5 separate regions of the Homo sapiens genome follow, and regions 2, 3, 4 and 5 are each linked to region 1. Evidence: promoter capture Hi-C in 16 types of primary human blood cells and fetal thymus (Javierre and others, 2016). All regions are on one chromosome and are shown on one strand. The core of a region is centred on a gene start or on the middle of the fragment in contact, and the rest is flanking DNA. Distances in the headings are between cores, read along the strand shown.

Evidence for each region. Contacts are between HindIII fragments. The CHiCAGO score rates a contact against its expected background, and 5 or more counts as called.
Region 2: the fragment with the promoter of SLC25A36 here is called in contact with the fragment with the promoter of ATP1B3 in region 1 in 1 of 17 cell types (activated CD4 T cells); the score reaches 5.1 in activated CD4 T cells.
Region 3: the fragment with the promoter of TRPC1 here is called in contact with the fragment with the promoter of ATP1B3 in region 1 in 2 of 17 cell types (fetal thymus and total CD8 T cells); the score reaches 5.7 in fetal thymus.
Region 4: a contact is called between a fragment that was not itself captured here and the fragment with the promoter of ATP1B3 in region 1, in 2 of 17 cell types (activated CD4 T cells and fetal thymus). The highest score is 7.4, in activated CD4 T cells.
Region 5: a contact is called between a fragment that was not itself captured here and the fragment with the promoter of ATP1B3 in region 1, in 1 of 17 cell types (naive B cells). The highest score is 5.3, in naive B cells.

What each region holds. Positions count from the first base shown.
Region 1 is chr3:141,875,308-141,877,956 of GRCh38, forward strand. It overlaps ATP1B3 (ATPase Na+/K+ transporting subunit beta 3), which reads left to right and starts at 1,336. Exons shown (of 7, transcript NM_001679.4): 1 at 1,336-1,603. The coding sequence starts at 1,495. RefSeq lists silencers at 231-290, 1,161-1,290, 1,561-2,130. The HindIII fragment of the contact is 6,749 bases long and covers 1-2,649 here.
Region 2 is chr3:140,940,475-140,943,123 of GRCh38, forward strand. SLC25A36 (solute carrier family 25 member 36) reads left to right here and starts at 1,362. Exons shown (of 7, transcript NM_001104647.3): 1 at 1,362-1,621. The coding sequence starts at 1,581. RefSeq lists enhancers at 1,336-1,705, 1,799-2,646, 2,286-2,515. The HindIII fragment of the contact is 2,098 bases long and covers 286-2,383 here.
Region 3 is chr3:142,722,741-142,725,389 of GRCh38, forward strand. TRPC1 (transient receptor potential cation channel subfamily C member 1) reads left to right here and starts at 1,294. Exons shown (of 13, transcript NM_001251845.2): 1 at 1,294-1,991. The coding sequence starts at 1,820. RefSeq lists a silencer at 1,538-1,587 and an enhancer at 1,846-2,649. The HindIII fragment of the contact is 1,344 bases long and covers 621-1,964 here.
Region 4 is chr3:141,234,707-141,237,355 of GRCh38, forward strand. All of the region lies in intron 1 of PXYLP1 (2-phosphoxylose phosphatase 1), which reads left to right. Among named protein-coding and RNA genes, the nearest start is that of PXYLP1, 4.2 kb to the left of the region's middle. The HindIII fragment of the contact is 1,116 bases long and covers 746-1,861 here.
Region 5 is chr3:141,355,577-141,358,225 of GRCh38, forward strand. It overlaps a transcript of ZBTB38 not described here. Among named protein-coding and RNA genes, the nearest start is that of ZBTB38, 12 kb to the right of the region's middle. The HindIII fragment of the contact is 7,008 bases long and covers 1-2,649 here.

The sequences.
Region 1 (2,649 bases), core at 86-2,585:
AAAAGCACTTTATAGGAATATATTTTACCACTTTTCCATTTGTGGGAGGTATAATTCATTATTTCTTGCTTTGGTAAGAAAAGTGAGGAAAAAGGAAAATTCATCCATTTGCAGGCTGTTTAAACTTCCAGACAGATTATAATTCATCACTCCAAACAATAAGATGGCTATTACATTTCTCCATAATTTTTATTTGCTAATAAAACGGAGGCAGAGCTTTTTTCTAAAAATAAATAAATAAACAACAACAACAACAACCTCCCCCACCCCGCACCTTCTGTGCAAATTCCTATAAAGTCTTTTATCCTGTCGCTGAGTCTGAGGGCACCCCCCCTCCCGTACTCGTCAGCTCCATCTCGCGGAGGAAAACGCTACCGGCACCCTCAGCTCCGCCCAAGGGCCGCGATCTCTACAGGGGAGATGAAAAGCCGGCGACACTACACAGGCGTGGACCCTCCAACGAGTGTTCCTTTCCTGTGGGTTAAGAGTAGGAGCGTCTGGGCAAAAGCTGGGAGCTTTCAGTTGCCAGGACCCTTGGGAAAGCACGTATTTAGATTTCATTGATAAATTCAACTGAATCCCGAGAAAAATTATACTCCATTCACTGGCATATTTAGAACGGAATTCCCATTGACCCGAGGCTCCCGGTTGAACCCTTCAAGGGAGCCAAGCGAGGACGTTCTCAGAACAGCAGTGCACCGTGTACATTGTGGGAGCCCCGCGCGATCCCCCGCAGAGCGTCCTGTAGGAACGTCACAGAGCCCAGAGAGCGTCCTGTAGGAACGTCACAGAGCCCAGAGAGCGTCCTGTAGGAACGTCACAGAGCCCAGAGAGCGTCCTGTAGGAACGTCACAGAGCCCAGAGAACGCCTGGGGACGGTCGGGGAGGCAGTTCGGGGAGGGGACGATTAAGTTCCCTCAGAGAGGAAGCCGCGGGCCGACTGGAGTCGTTTTCGTGCTCTCCGCACCCGCCCGCCGCGGGTAGCATCTTCTCAGCGCCCCGGCGCCCAGGAACGCCCAGGAAACCCAGTCCTCCTCCTAAGCAACCTGCGGCGCGGGGACGCCCGCCTTTTGCTATTATTATAAACGTGCGTGCGACTAAACCTTCGGATTTTTAGACTTTCTTCTCGCTTCCTCTGACCCAGGCTGAGGGAGCCCCCGAGGCTACTGCGGGGCGGGGCCGGGGCGGGGTGGGGCGCCCTCGCCGCCTCAGGCAGCGCCCCGGCCGCTGGCGGGAGGCGGCAGCGGCGCGGGCCGAGCGGCGCGGGGATTGGCTGCGGCGGGCGGAGACGTCAGGCTCCCGCGGCCCAAGCGGCCGCCCGGCGCGGCGCGGCGCAGTCGGCTCGAGTACTCCCCGTAACGAGGAGGTGTTCTCGGCCGTCCCACCCTTCACTGCCGTCTCCGGGCTGCGCCGCCGGAGCCGGGACGCGCCTCCGCAGCCCTCGCCGCCTCCATCCCCGCGGCCGCAGCTCCTCTCGCCGTCCGCGCGCACACCATGACGAAGAACGAGAAGAAGTCCCTCAACCAGAGCCTGGCCGAGTGGAAGCTCTTCATCTACAACCCGACCACCGGAGAATTCCTGGGGCGCACCGCCAAGAGCTGGGGTGAGCGGGCAGCAGCTGGGCGTCCGGGGCCGGCCTCGGTCCCGGGGGCGCCGGGCGCGGTCTGGTGGGAACGGAAAGGCGGGAGGCGGCTCCCAGCGCCGGGGCTCCCGACCGCCCGACCCTAACCCGGGCGGCGGCGGCGCAGTGCGGCCCCATTCATTGCTCCCCGGGCCGGCCGGACTGGCCGCAGCTCGCTCCCGAAGCAGCGGGGCCCGCGGGCAGCCCGGCCGGGCCGCGCTGGTTCCTCCCTCCCTGCTGGGAGCGGGGCGCACGTGCTGCCCGGGCCTCCCGCCCGGCGCGGCGCCGGAAGCCGGGGACCCCTGCCCGAAGCCGGGCCCCGAGAGTGCAGGAGCCGAGCCCCCGGGCCTCCTTTGTACGGAGCGCTCCGGCCCGAGAGGCCCTGGCGGAGGCGCCCGGCCCGCTGAGCGGTTCGGAGAAGCCAGACCCTGCCCCACTCCAGGGGAGAGGAAATTTCCACTCCCGCCGCTATCTTGTGACTCGTCCACGCTGCCACCCCGACCGGTCGGAAGAGTGCGACTGAGTGTTAAGTGTGGGTGTGGGTTGCTTAAACGTGTAGCGGTGAGTTAATCACAGAAGTACATTGTACAAGAAAATGCACTTGAATTTGGACAGTGAAAAGGCCCTTAAAAAGGTTGGTTCCTCCCGGATTCCTTTTTAATTACAGAGGTTTTCTTCCTTACAAATTTGCTTCTTTGGGGAAAGTAAATCCTGTCTGAACAACACAGGTTTTTTTTTTTTTTCCCGTGTCTTCAAAACAGGAGAGTGATGGTTGTATGTTAGCAGATTTTTTCTATGCGTGAGCTCTTTGTTTTAATATATTTAAACCATCTACCGTGTAGAGTAGCTTTAGGATGCCTTTTTTTCCTAAAATTGTATCAATCTCTGAATGCAGGCTAGAGCTTTTTTTTTTTTTTGCCTTTATACTTAAGTAAACTAATTTTACCTTTTTAAATCCTTTTGAAACATTTTGTTAGTGGGTCTTGAAAGACCATTTCTTTCTGAGTGGGAATAAATCTCGAGAGCTT
Region 2 (2,649 bases), core at 112-2,611, 930 kb before region 1:
CAAGAGCAGGGCTTTCAATGGAAATTGTAAACAAGTGGGATCATATATTGAAACATTTCTTTGAAGAATTGTAACAGGAGATCAAACATAGCTTTCTCAGTATGATTCTGGATCAAAGCAATAGTTACCAAGAGGTGCAAGTGGTCCAGTCAAATCAAAAGTAGACTGGTCAAGAGCCGAAGTCATAGCAGCAGCTTTTTGGGATGCTCAAGGTATTTTGCCTGTTGACTTTCTGGAGGGTGGAAGAGCAATAACATCCGCTTACTATAGGAGAAAGTGAAGCAAAGCTTTAGCATAAAAACACCTACGAAATCTTCACCAGAGAGTCCTTCTCCATCAGGACAATGTTCCTGCTCATTCCTCTCTTTAAATAAGGGCATTTTTCCAGGGATTTCGATGGGAAACTATCAGGTATCCATCTTACATTCCTGACCTGGCTCCTTCTGACATATTTTTGTTTTCTAATCGTGAAAAATCTGTAAATGGCACCCATTTTTCTTCAGTTAATAACGTAAAAAAGCCTGCATTTTCATGATTAAATTCCCAGAACCCTCAATTCTTTACAGATGGACTAAAGAGCCGGTATCATCACTTACCAAACTGTCTTTAACTTGATGGAGCTTACGTTGAAAAACAAAGTTTATATTTTTAAATTTTATCTTTTAATTCCATTTCCCATGAACTTTTATTCTTTTAAAAACAAACCCAAGTATTTTAATTCTACTTGCCTTTTTTACTTATTACACACTTCGGGAGATTTTTTGCCATATGGAATCACCTCATCCCTTGTCACGATTGCATAATATTCCATAGTAGGAATGTTTCATGATTTATTTCTTCATTCCCCCACTGATTTCAATTTTCTGCAACTGCAAGCATTGTTCATAATTCTGTACTGTTTGTGAGCCTATATAGGAGTATCCGTGCACAAACCTTTTTATGCATTGTGCGAGGGTTACTCTGAGATAGACACCAAGGGAACTGCTGGGTCATAAATCCAATTTTTTCAAAGTAAATCCGCTTGCGAACCCGGAACCAAGTCGATTTTTCCCGCCCCGCCAGTTCCCTGTTCAGGAGAGTGCAGCCGTGATTGGCGCGTTCACTCAGGCCAGGGGCGCCCCAGGTCTCAGGTGCTAGGAGCGCGGTGACCTACCACCCTCCGGGCACGCGTTCTGGCCACGCCTCGCGGCCCCTTTCATTGAAAGAGCCCGTAGGGATCACGTGAAAGAACACTGCAGAGTGCGTGACGTCACGACGCTCACACCAATGGGAGCCTCTGTTTATGTCGGGAGCCATCAAATAGTCATCTTCCCCCTACCATCCCCCGCCCACTCTCCGTCGCGCTGCGCTGCGTCGCTTTCAGCCTCTGGTGAAGGGCGGCGCGCTTAGGCAGGCGGTGGCGCGGCTGGAGTGCCGCGGGGAGGGCTGTGCCGGTTGCTTTCTGCAGCCGCATCTCGGCCAGCTCTCCTCGCCGTCCCCGGGGCGCTGTGCGTCTCCAGTCCGGGACCGAAGCCGCCTGCCGTAGCGGGCGGCCAGATCCGCGTCCCGCCTCAGCGGCCGGAGGACATGCGGGAGAGAGAATGAGCCAGAGGGACACGCTGGTGCATCTGTTTGCCGGAGGGTAAGGTCCTGGCGGGGCGTGCGCACTGGGGCTGAGGGTGCTGGGGCCGAAGACGCAGGCGAGGGGGGCGAGGGGGGCCGAGGGGGGTGGGGGGGTGGGGGGGCGGGAGTGAGGCCTGGGCGGGGAGCTGCCACGGGCCTGCGGGTGAGGGGAGCGACCCAGCCCGTGGGTGGTGAGGGGGGCTCCGGTTCGGGGAAGCAAGGGGGTGAGGCCCGGGCCCGAGGGCGAGAGAGTGAGGCCCGGGCAAAGAGGGTTGAGGCATGAAACCCGGGCCGGGAGTGAGGTTTTGGGCCCGCGGGGCCGGGGTGAGGCGGAGGCCGAATCCATGCGTCTGAGGAGACGCGGGCAAGAGCTGGGGTCGGCGCTTGATTACCCGGACGCCGCTGGACCTGGCCGCACGCCGCAATCTAGCAGGCGTCGGGGATCCAGGGCCGCTTTGAGGAGCCTGGCTTCGGATTTCGCGTAGGTTGCATGGCCCAAGGGGACGGGGCGGAAAGTGCGGAGGCTGAGGACAAAATGGGCGCCGGAGACTCCTTTAGCCCTCGCTCCTTGCAGCGCTCGCTTGGGCCTCTGCACGTCACTCACGCCCCACCTCGGACCTCGGGCCGCTCATTTCCGGGCTCGGCTTTGCAAGGTGGGTGGTAAGGGGGCTACGGGATCGAGCGGGGAAGGCTTTGGTATTCTCCCGTGGTTGCTGTAGGGTGTTTCTAGCCCTTGGAAAATTTCTTGCCCGAGGTTTTCCAGGTGGTGAATGGGGTGCAAAGCTTTCCAGTACCTTTGGGGTCAGATTCCTTTCGAGAAAACCACCCCTCTTGAACACCGCTTGCTTTTCTGCTGCTTAGGAGAAAGTAGGAGTGGAGAGAGGTCAGATTTTTTGAAGATAGTGTTAATAGTTACTATGTGTGTGCAAGATTAGGACTAAGCCTAAAGTCTTAGTTCCCTGATTGCCAAAATGAGTGTTAGAGCTTCCAGTTTAGCCTCCTGTTTAGATTTGCTCCTTCTAAATCATTTGGAGAATCATAGCAATT
Region 3 (2,649 bases), core at 44-2,543, 850 kb after region 1:
GGCCAACAAACATATGAAAAAATGCTCAAGATCACTAATGATCAGGGAATTCCAAGTCAAAACTGCTATGCCGTATGTACCACCCTACTTCCGCAAGAATGGCCATAATCAAAAAAATCAAAAAATAATAGCTGTTGGTGTGGATGCGGTGAAAAGGGAACACTTCTACATTACTGGTGGGACTGTAAACTAGTACACCACTATGGAAAACAGTGTGGAGATTCCTTAGAGAACTAAAAGTAGAACTACCATTTGATCCAGTAATCCCACTACTGGGTATCTACCCAGAGGAAAAGAAGTCATTACACGAAAAAGATACTTGCCCATGCATATTTATAGCAGCACAATTCGCAATTGCAAAAATGTGGAGCCAACCCAAATGCCCATGAATCAATGAGTGGATAAAGAAACTGTGATATATATATATATATATATATATGTGGTATATATATATGTGATATATATATAATGATGGAATACTACTCAGCCATAAAAAGGAATGAATAAATGGCATTCGCAGAAACCTGGATGGGACTGGAGACTATTATTCTTATTCTAAATGAAGTAACTCAGGAATGGAAAACCAAACATCGTATGTTCTCACTCACAAGTGAGAGCTAAGCTTTGAGGATGCAAAGGCATAGGAATGACACAATGGACTTTCGGGACTCGGGGAAAGGTTGGGAAGGGGGAGAGGGATAAAAGACTACAAAATTAGGTTCAGTGTATACTGCTCGATGATGGGTACATCAAAATCTCACAAATCATCACTAAAGAACTTACTCATGTAACCAAACACCACCTGTTCCTCAAAAACCTATGGAAATAATATGGAAATAAAAATTTATATATTTGTATAAATTATTTAAACATAATATAATTATATATCTATATATCCTTTATAAATGAGAGTTCATTTCCAGCCTAAAATGAGTACAACATACAAACCCACGAGTCTGGCTCTCCATTGTGCTTTAAAGCATAGTGCACCAGAATATGAAATAGCTGGACAATTCCACAAAGGATTTCGACTAAACATTAAGTCGTCAGAGACTCAATTAACATACTGCTCCATATTTGCTTAATTACCTTAAACCAGTACCCTGGGTGTGGAAAGGGACGATTGAGCGAAGTCTTCCTCAGACTGCGGTTCACCTCACCAGAGCGAAGGAAGCTGCAGCGGGCTCCAGGAGCCCAGTGCGTCCCCACCGCAGGCCCCACCCACCCACGCCCCGCTTGCCGCAGGCCCCGCCCACCCAAGCCCGCCCTTGCCGCAGGCTCCTCCCTAGTGTCGTCGCTACAGAGGAGCAGAGGATGACGTGAGGACAGAGTCGCGAACATCTCCTCGGAGCGCAGCTGGGCCAGCGGTTCCCACAGCCCTGGAGCCCAACGTGCGCAGAAGCGCCTCTTGGAGCTCCTCTCCCACAGATCTCTCGTCCTCTTCCTGGGCTAGGCCGCCCCAGGCGCGGCCCCTGCGACTCCTGGCACGGCCCCGTGCTCGGCTGCCGCCCTGGCGCGCGCCACACTGTCGTCCCCGGACGGGCGCGGACCGGCTCGGCCGGGGCGCCGGCGGCTGGGGAGGGGTCGCTGGCCCCGGGGCCGCGCATGCGCCGCCACCAACTTGGGGCTGTCAGTGGAGGGCGAGTGCTGGTTCTCAGGGGAGGCGACGCCCTTCGGGGCCAACGGGCCTCGAGCCGAGGCAGCAGTGGGAACGACTCATCCTTTTTCCAGCCCTGGGGCGTGGCTGGGGTCGGGGTCGGGGTCGGGGCCGGTGGGGGCCCCGCCCCCGTCTCCTGGCCTGCCCCCTTCATGGGCCGCGATGATGGCGGCCCTGTACCCGAGCACGGACCTCTCGGGCGCCTCCTCCTCCTCCCTGCCTTCCTCTCCATCCTCTTCCTCGCCGAACGAGGTGATGGCGCTGAAGGATGTGCGGGAGGTGAAGGAGGAGAATACGCTGAATGAGAAGCTTTTCTTGCTGGCGTGCGACAAGGGTGAGAGTTAGGCCCCTTTCTCCTCTGGACGCCCCTGTCCTCCAGACCTTTAGTCCTCTCCCCCGCCTCAACTTATATCGGGGCATTCCCTCTGTCTCAGGCGCCGAGTGTCTTCCCGCCTCGCCTGCTGCCTCAGGCGGTCTTCTCCTCACCGCCTCTGCCCTGTGAGTGTGGAGCTGGCGGGAGAGTGGAGCTGGGGCTGCGCCCTCGGAGCGCTGCACCGTCGGGGGTGGCTCTGGCCTTGGGGTCCGGGGTTTAGGTAGCGCCTTGGGAGCCCCGACCCCAGCGTTTTAGCGCCGCCCTTGCTACTGACCGCATGAATGACCTGGTCTTCTCTCTGGCTCGCAGTTCATTCCTTCCGGGAGTCGAGAGGCTAGTTTCCGACACTCCAGTCGGAAAATTCCGTCACCTTACCTTAGGATGCCTCGTATGGAGGGTTCTCATCACCTGGTTTTTGTTTTTCTTAAAAACAAAACCAGACCCTCTATTATTTAGCTTCACCTGACCAGTGCTTTAGCCAGTGACTGTTGACTGGCATTAATAACGGAATATCCTAGGTGGAGATACATGAAGTAAGGACGGGACGGAAGAAATTCTGCCTTAGTTGCCAAAACTTTCTCTGGATTTACGGAACGCCTTTGATTGTTAGTGCTTTTTA
Region 4 (2,649 bases), core at 54-2,553, 640 kb before region 1:
AGGCCACCCCCAGGCAGTACAGCCAAATGCTGAGGGGGTGGGAACACCTCATGTCCCCCTTTTTTTGTGGGGGAATCTGGAAAGGGCTAAAATTGAGACTGCCACTTGGCTGTGGGAGCCTGCACTGCCCCTGGCTGTCACGAACTTATCTTTCTTACCCAGATTGTCTCTGTCTTCAGGTCTGGCTCAGAATTCCTGCAGCTGGTGAAAATCTGTTTTCTAGAAGAGGTTTAATTAATGCCTGCAGTCTGTGAGTAAGAGAAAGGGAGGAGAGGGAGAAAGAGACATACTACTATCTAGAGGTGGGTGGGAGAAAGGATAGGAGAATGTTCAAGGTCCTGAAAATTCATAGGGGGAGATTTTGGCCCCAGAACCTGTCCCTGGACAAGGTTCCTGGTTGGTGGATAAGGAAGTGTGCCCACATTCCAGTGTAGGGGTTACCAGTTAGGAGCAAAGTCACTGAGATAGGAAAAATGACCCCATGGGAATCTGAAATCCATTTGCTGGGCCCATCATTCTGGTTTTGAGAAGGCCTTGAAAGCCAGCTGAGACTTGGGCTTAGCACGGCAGGAGAGCACTGAGCTGTTTGAAGTTTTTGAATGAGGTGTGTGCCCTTTTGGAAATAATGGCTTGAGCAAGATTGGTCTGGGGTTTGGCCTGGGAAGCCACTTTACCATGGCTTAATTTATAGGCCCTGAGCTGTAGCCCCAGTCCCCTTTGACATCACCCATTTTCCAATGGAGGAAGCTTCCAGGGAGACAGGGTACCACTTGGAGAGCCCCCATGGCCACTTCAGATTGCAGCCATTGCCACTTCATCTCACCTGAGGTGCTGAGGGGAGAGTCTAGGTAAGTGACAAAAGGAGCAGTGGCTTGGAAGGTCTGTGCACCTGTATTTAGGAGGTGAAGAAGAGGGAGCAGCTTTCTAGTAGGATGGTGGGCCTTTTGATAGAAGCATCTCCCAGGGACTCTTTTTGAACCTGCTGTGCAGCCTTGCAGGTAAACGACGGCCCATTGGAGCCTCTCAACCTGGAGATGCTGCATGGCAGCCACGAGGAGGCACCCGTGAACCCAGAATGAATTTCAGGGTCCGCTCTGAGTCCAAAAGGCAGGAGGGCCCTGGCCAACTAACACCTAACTGAGCCACAGACTCTGGCCTGTTTATCCTCCACCCTCAAAACCAGCAGGCTTCTCTGACCCTTTTTGGACTTTGGCTGGGGAAGCCACTGGCTTTTGGAAAAAGTTCAGTCTGCAGTGATGGCGGGAACAATCTCAGGAGTCTGGAAGAAGTTAATGATTAAAAAGGCATGGAAGAAGAACTGGATGGCGGCTTGGGGAGTAGTTTCTGCAGTCAGGAGGCACCCTTCACCTCATTCCCTTGGCCCACAGTCATCTGTGCATGCGTCTGCCCCTCCCTCCATCAGTGGAGCTCCCTCTGAGCTGCGTACTCGAGGGTGGAGGAGAGTTTGGGGGAACTCAAACATGTGGTAGTAGAGACTGTAGTAACTTTAAAATTCTCTTTGTATTTGCAGAATCATTTCCCCAATTTACACACTCATGTTTCAGTTTACAGGGCATCCTTTTGTCACCTGCTCGCCACCCTTATGCCCCTGGGTGTGACCAGCTTCCTCAGAAAGAGCTGTAATCAATAGCATATTGATTAAAAAGCATATTAAGATGAAAATTATTGCACCTGGTTTTGATGCCCCCACTCTCTCCCCTTTCCTCCTCCACTTCTGTTTGTGGTTACAGCCATCATTTACATTAAAGTTACAAATCATTTTGAATACTATTTGTCCCACCCCTCAGTTATTCAGAGACATGTGTCTTTTCAACCAACAAAACCACAGCTTGCTTTCCTAAGCTTACCTCATTCTTGGATCTAACACCAACCTTCAGGCCTTCAGAGATCCAGCAGTATCATTTTGAGCTTTTAACCGTAAAATAAAATGAAGCTCTTACTTGCTGTTTGTTCTCTGCAGACATAGGAGAATCTAGTTAGAATTAAACATTTACTGTCTTGTTAAGGCTTTATGCTTCTAAAATGAAAGTGGCAGTTGGATTACCGTAAAGTTAGTAAAGTTGTAGAACAAATTTTTGGAAGCTCAGAAATAATAATGGAGGGACTTACAGAAATAAACTATTAAGCTTAAATCTTAAAACATAGATATAAATATGAACTATCTTGAAAGTATAGAAAATTTGGCAAGTATAGATTAATAAGTATATAATATTTTATGCAAGTTATATTAATTATTAGGATCATGCATTATGTTTATACAGTACCTTACTATATAAAAAAGCAACTTTGTCCATATCTCATTTGATTCAATAAGCCTGCGATCTGCTTAGAGATGGGGAGATGGGACCTTGGGATGGTTAAAAGGCTTCCTCTAGAATTCAGATCTCATAAGCAGAGAAATACTATGTAAACCTGGATATCCCTGCCCACGTTGCTTGATAACCAAATGTGGTTACATAGTTTTTTGAAAATTGTAGGTGGTCCTATTCTTAGGGATAAAAATAGGCATTGGTTTTCTCTAAAACTTTCTGCAAGTCAAACAAACAAACAAAAACTCTGTATGTAGCACCCAGAAACCTGAAAGGACTTCTCAAGGTTTGTAGATGTCAGAGGTTCTCTGTTGATGAC
Region 5 (2,649 bases), core at 44-2,543, 520 kb before region 1:
AAAGTCAGAGCGTACAGTGTGCAGCCTCCACAGGCTTTCCAGTAGCTCCCACCTGAGTTCACACAGCAGGGGTGGGATGTAGATCCCTGCCACCCTGTAAATCTCTAGCCCAAACACCCACCTCCCACACAGACTTCCCATCTTAGGGGGGTCACCAGTAGGGCTGGACCATCCTCTCCTCCTTTAGCCACAGCAACTGTCTCCACCATCCTGAATAATTCTTCTTAATCAGTCTGGATTTCAAACAAAGATCTGAGTGGAGGGGCTTTATCCTGGGAGCCCAAAAACTTCTCTGTTTTAGGCTCCAAAGCACAAAGGGCTATTTCTTTCCCCCTGAGGAAGGAGAGCCAGCCCAAGACACAAAATTCAAAGCTAAGAAGAAATTCCCTTATCATGCTTTTTTGCTGGTAAGGCCGCAGCAGTAAAAAGGACACCAATTAACTTCTCTGCCACTCTGTTTCATGGGTGAACACTCAGCCTATAGGTGTGTGTTTGTGTGTGTGTGGTGGAGTGGGGGTTGTGTGGCCAAGTGCATTAACAAAGGCGATGTGGAGCCCTGATGAAATCTCAAAGGGCAGTTCTGAAAGAGGAGCCATGGAAAGAAAGCATTAACTGTAGCAGATGCTGCTGTGCCCTGGGACCATGGGAAGTGAGGAAATGGCAATTTGTTAGGATTTCCTGCACAGCAGTTGGACTAGGGCTGGAGTAAGGAATAGGACTGCTCATACAGTGGCCCAGGGGTGAGAAGACAGACGGCTCTTCCCTCGCCCAGCCTTGCATCCTGGCATGGGGCTACACTTCAAGGGACACCTTTTCTCACTCATACAAAAGTGTTACAGGGCTGCTGCGGCTCTGTTTAGGAAAGACAGTAGGGTAAGAAAATATGCCAGGTTCAGGGGAAGCCTCGGTATTTGGTCGACCATAAAGACTGACACAATTCTGTACTACATCTAACCTTACATGAAAGCCTCACCAAGCATCAGGGAAACAAAACACATTGACACAACCAAATACCAATCAAGGGAAGCCAGGGATGGGGAAACCAAGGCAGAGCAGCATCTCGTCCCCCTCCCTGCTCTCCTCATCGAGTTGGTCAATTGGTCAAGTGCTCTGGCTGTATCAGTCCAGGCAAATATGGGCAATTCTTAAATTCTCACTTAAAGTGTTAGAGGAGAGCTTTTAAAGATGATTGTTCCTGCTAGGCTTCCTTATTTGTTATTGCAAACAACTGGGAAATTATCTTAATAAGCGTATTCTATATAAGTGTCTTAGAATGGAGAAATTGGGGAAAAAAGATTTAAGATTTCCTTCATTAATCATCAAGAATGACTTTTTTTAAAAGTTCACTTGGGAACTATAAATGTAATATCTGTTCATTGCAGAAAATAATTAGATCACTACCAAATTGCTGTCTTCAAAATTATGTATAATATATGTTATAAATTATATAGAACCAATTTGTTTTCTCATTACTACTATTTGTGTTTGATCTTTTCTCCATACACTTGACCATTAGGCATATTCTTAATCTTTTCCATGTTTGCCAATGCGACAGGCAAATGACCCTCCTTGTGTTGGTCTCCATTTCCCTGACGCTAGTGATATTGAACATGTTTTATATACTATTTGTCATTGGTACTTTTTCTATGACTTACTTTTTTTTCTTTGCCCTCTTTCTTGTGTGTTGTTTGTTCTATTAGCACTGATATTAATCCTTTATTATTCTCCTGAAAATATTTTCTCAAAGTATGTCATTTGTCTTTCAACAGTGTTTATGGTGTCTTTAGCCAAACAGGGTTTTTATGCAAAGAAATCTATCAATGACTTACTTTATGGTATTTGGAGTTTTGTGACTTATTCAGGAAGGCACCCTCCATTATAAAAATATTCTTTTATTTTTCCATTTGGTATTTTTGTCATCTTTTGTTTTTTGTTTTGTTTTGTTTGTTTGTTCATTTGTTTGTTTGTTTCGAGATGAAGTCTCGCTCTGTTGCCCAGGCTTGAGTGCAGTGGCGCAATCTCGGCTCACTGCAAGTTCCGGCTCCGGGGTTCAAGCGATTCTCCTGCCTCGGCCTCCTGAGTAGCTGGGACTACAGGCACCCGCCACCACGCCCTGCTAATTTTTGTCTTGAACTCCTGAGCTCAGGTGATCTGCCCACCTCAGCCTCCCAAAGTGCTGGGATTACAGCATGAACCACTGCGCCTGGCTATTTTTGTGGTCTTTAAAAAAGTTTGTATCATCAACTTAGCTTTTATTTATTTGTTGTATAATGCAGAGGTAAGACCCTTAATTAACACCACCTAACCACATTTTATATGCATTGTAGAGAAAAAAGGAACCTAAGCTCTTTTATTCATCTGAGAGACCGTGGTGAGAACTCTGTGAGAGAGGAAAAGATGTTTCCCAATAAAGATCATACACTCTAGTGGGAAGGCTATTATGGTAGCCACATAATCCAAATTTTCTAAAGTAGTCCTGGTTTGTAATATTCTTTCTTACTGACACAGTATTAGCACCAACTTCTGATTCAGAAACTGTGGTCATATAGCCAATCAGCCTATGAAAGAGGACAAGGTAAGCGCCACAGGAAGTCTGTTGAATTCTACTAATTCAGAGGTGCAAGGGGCATTTCTGCCTGGCTTTCCAGG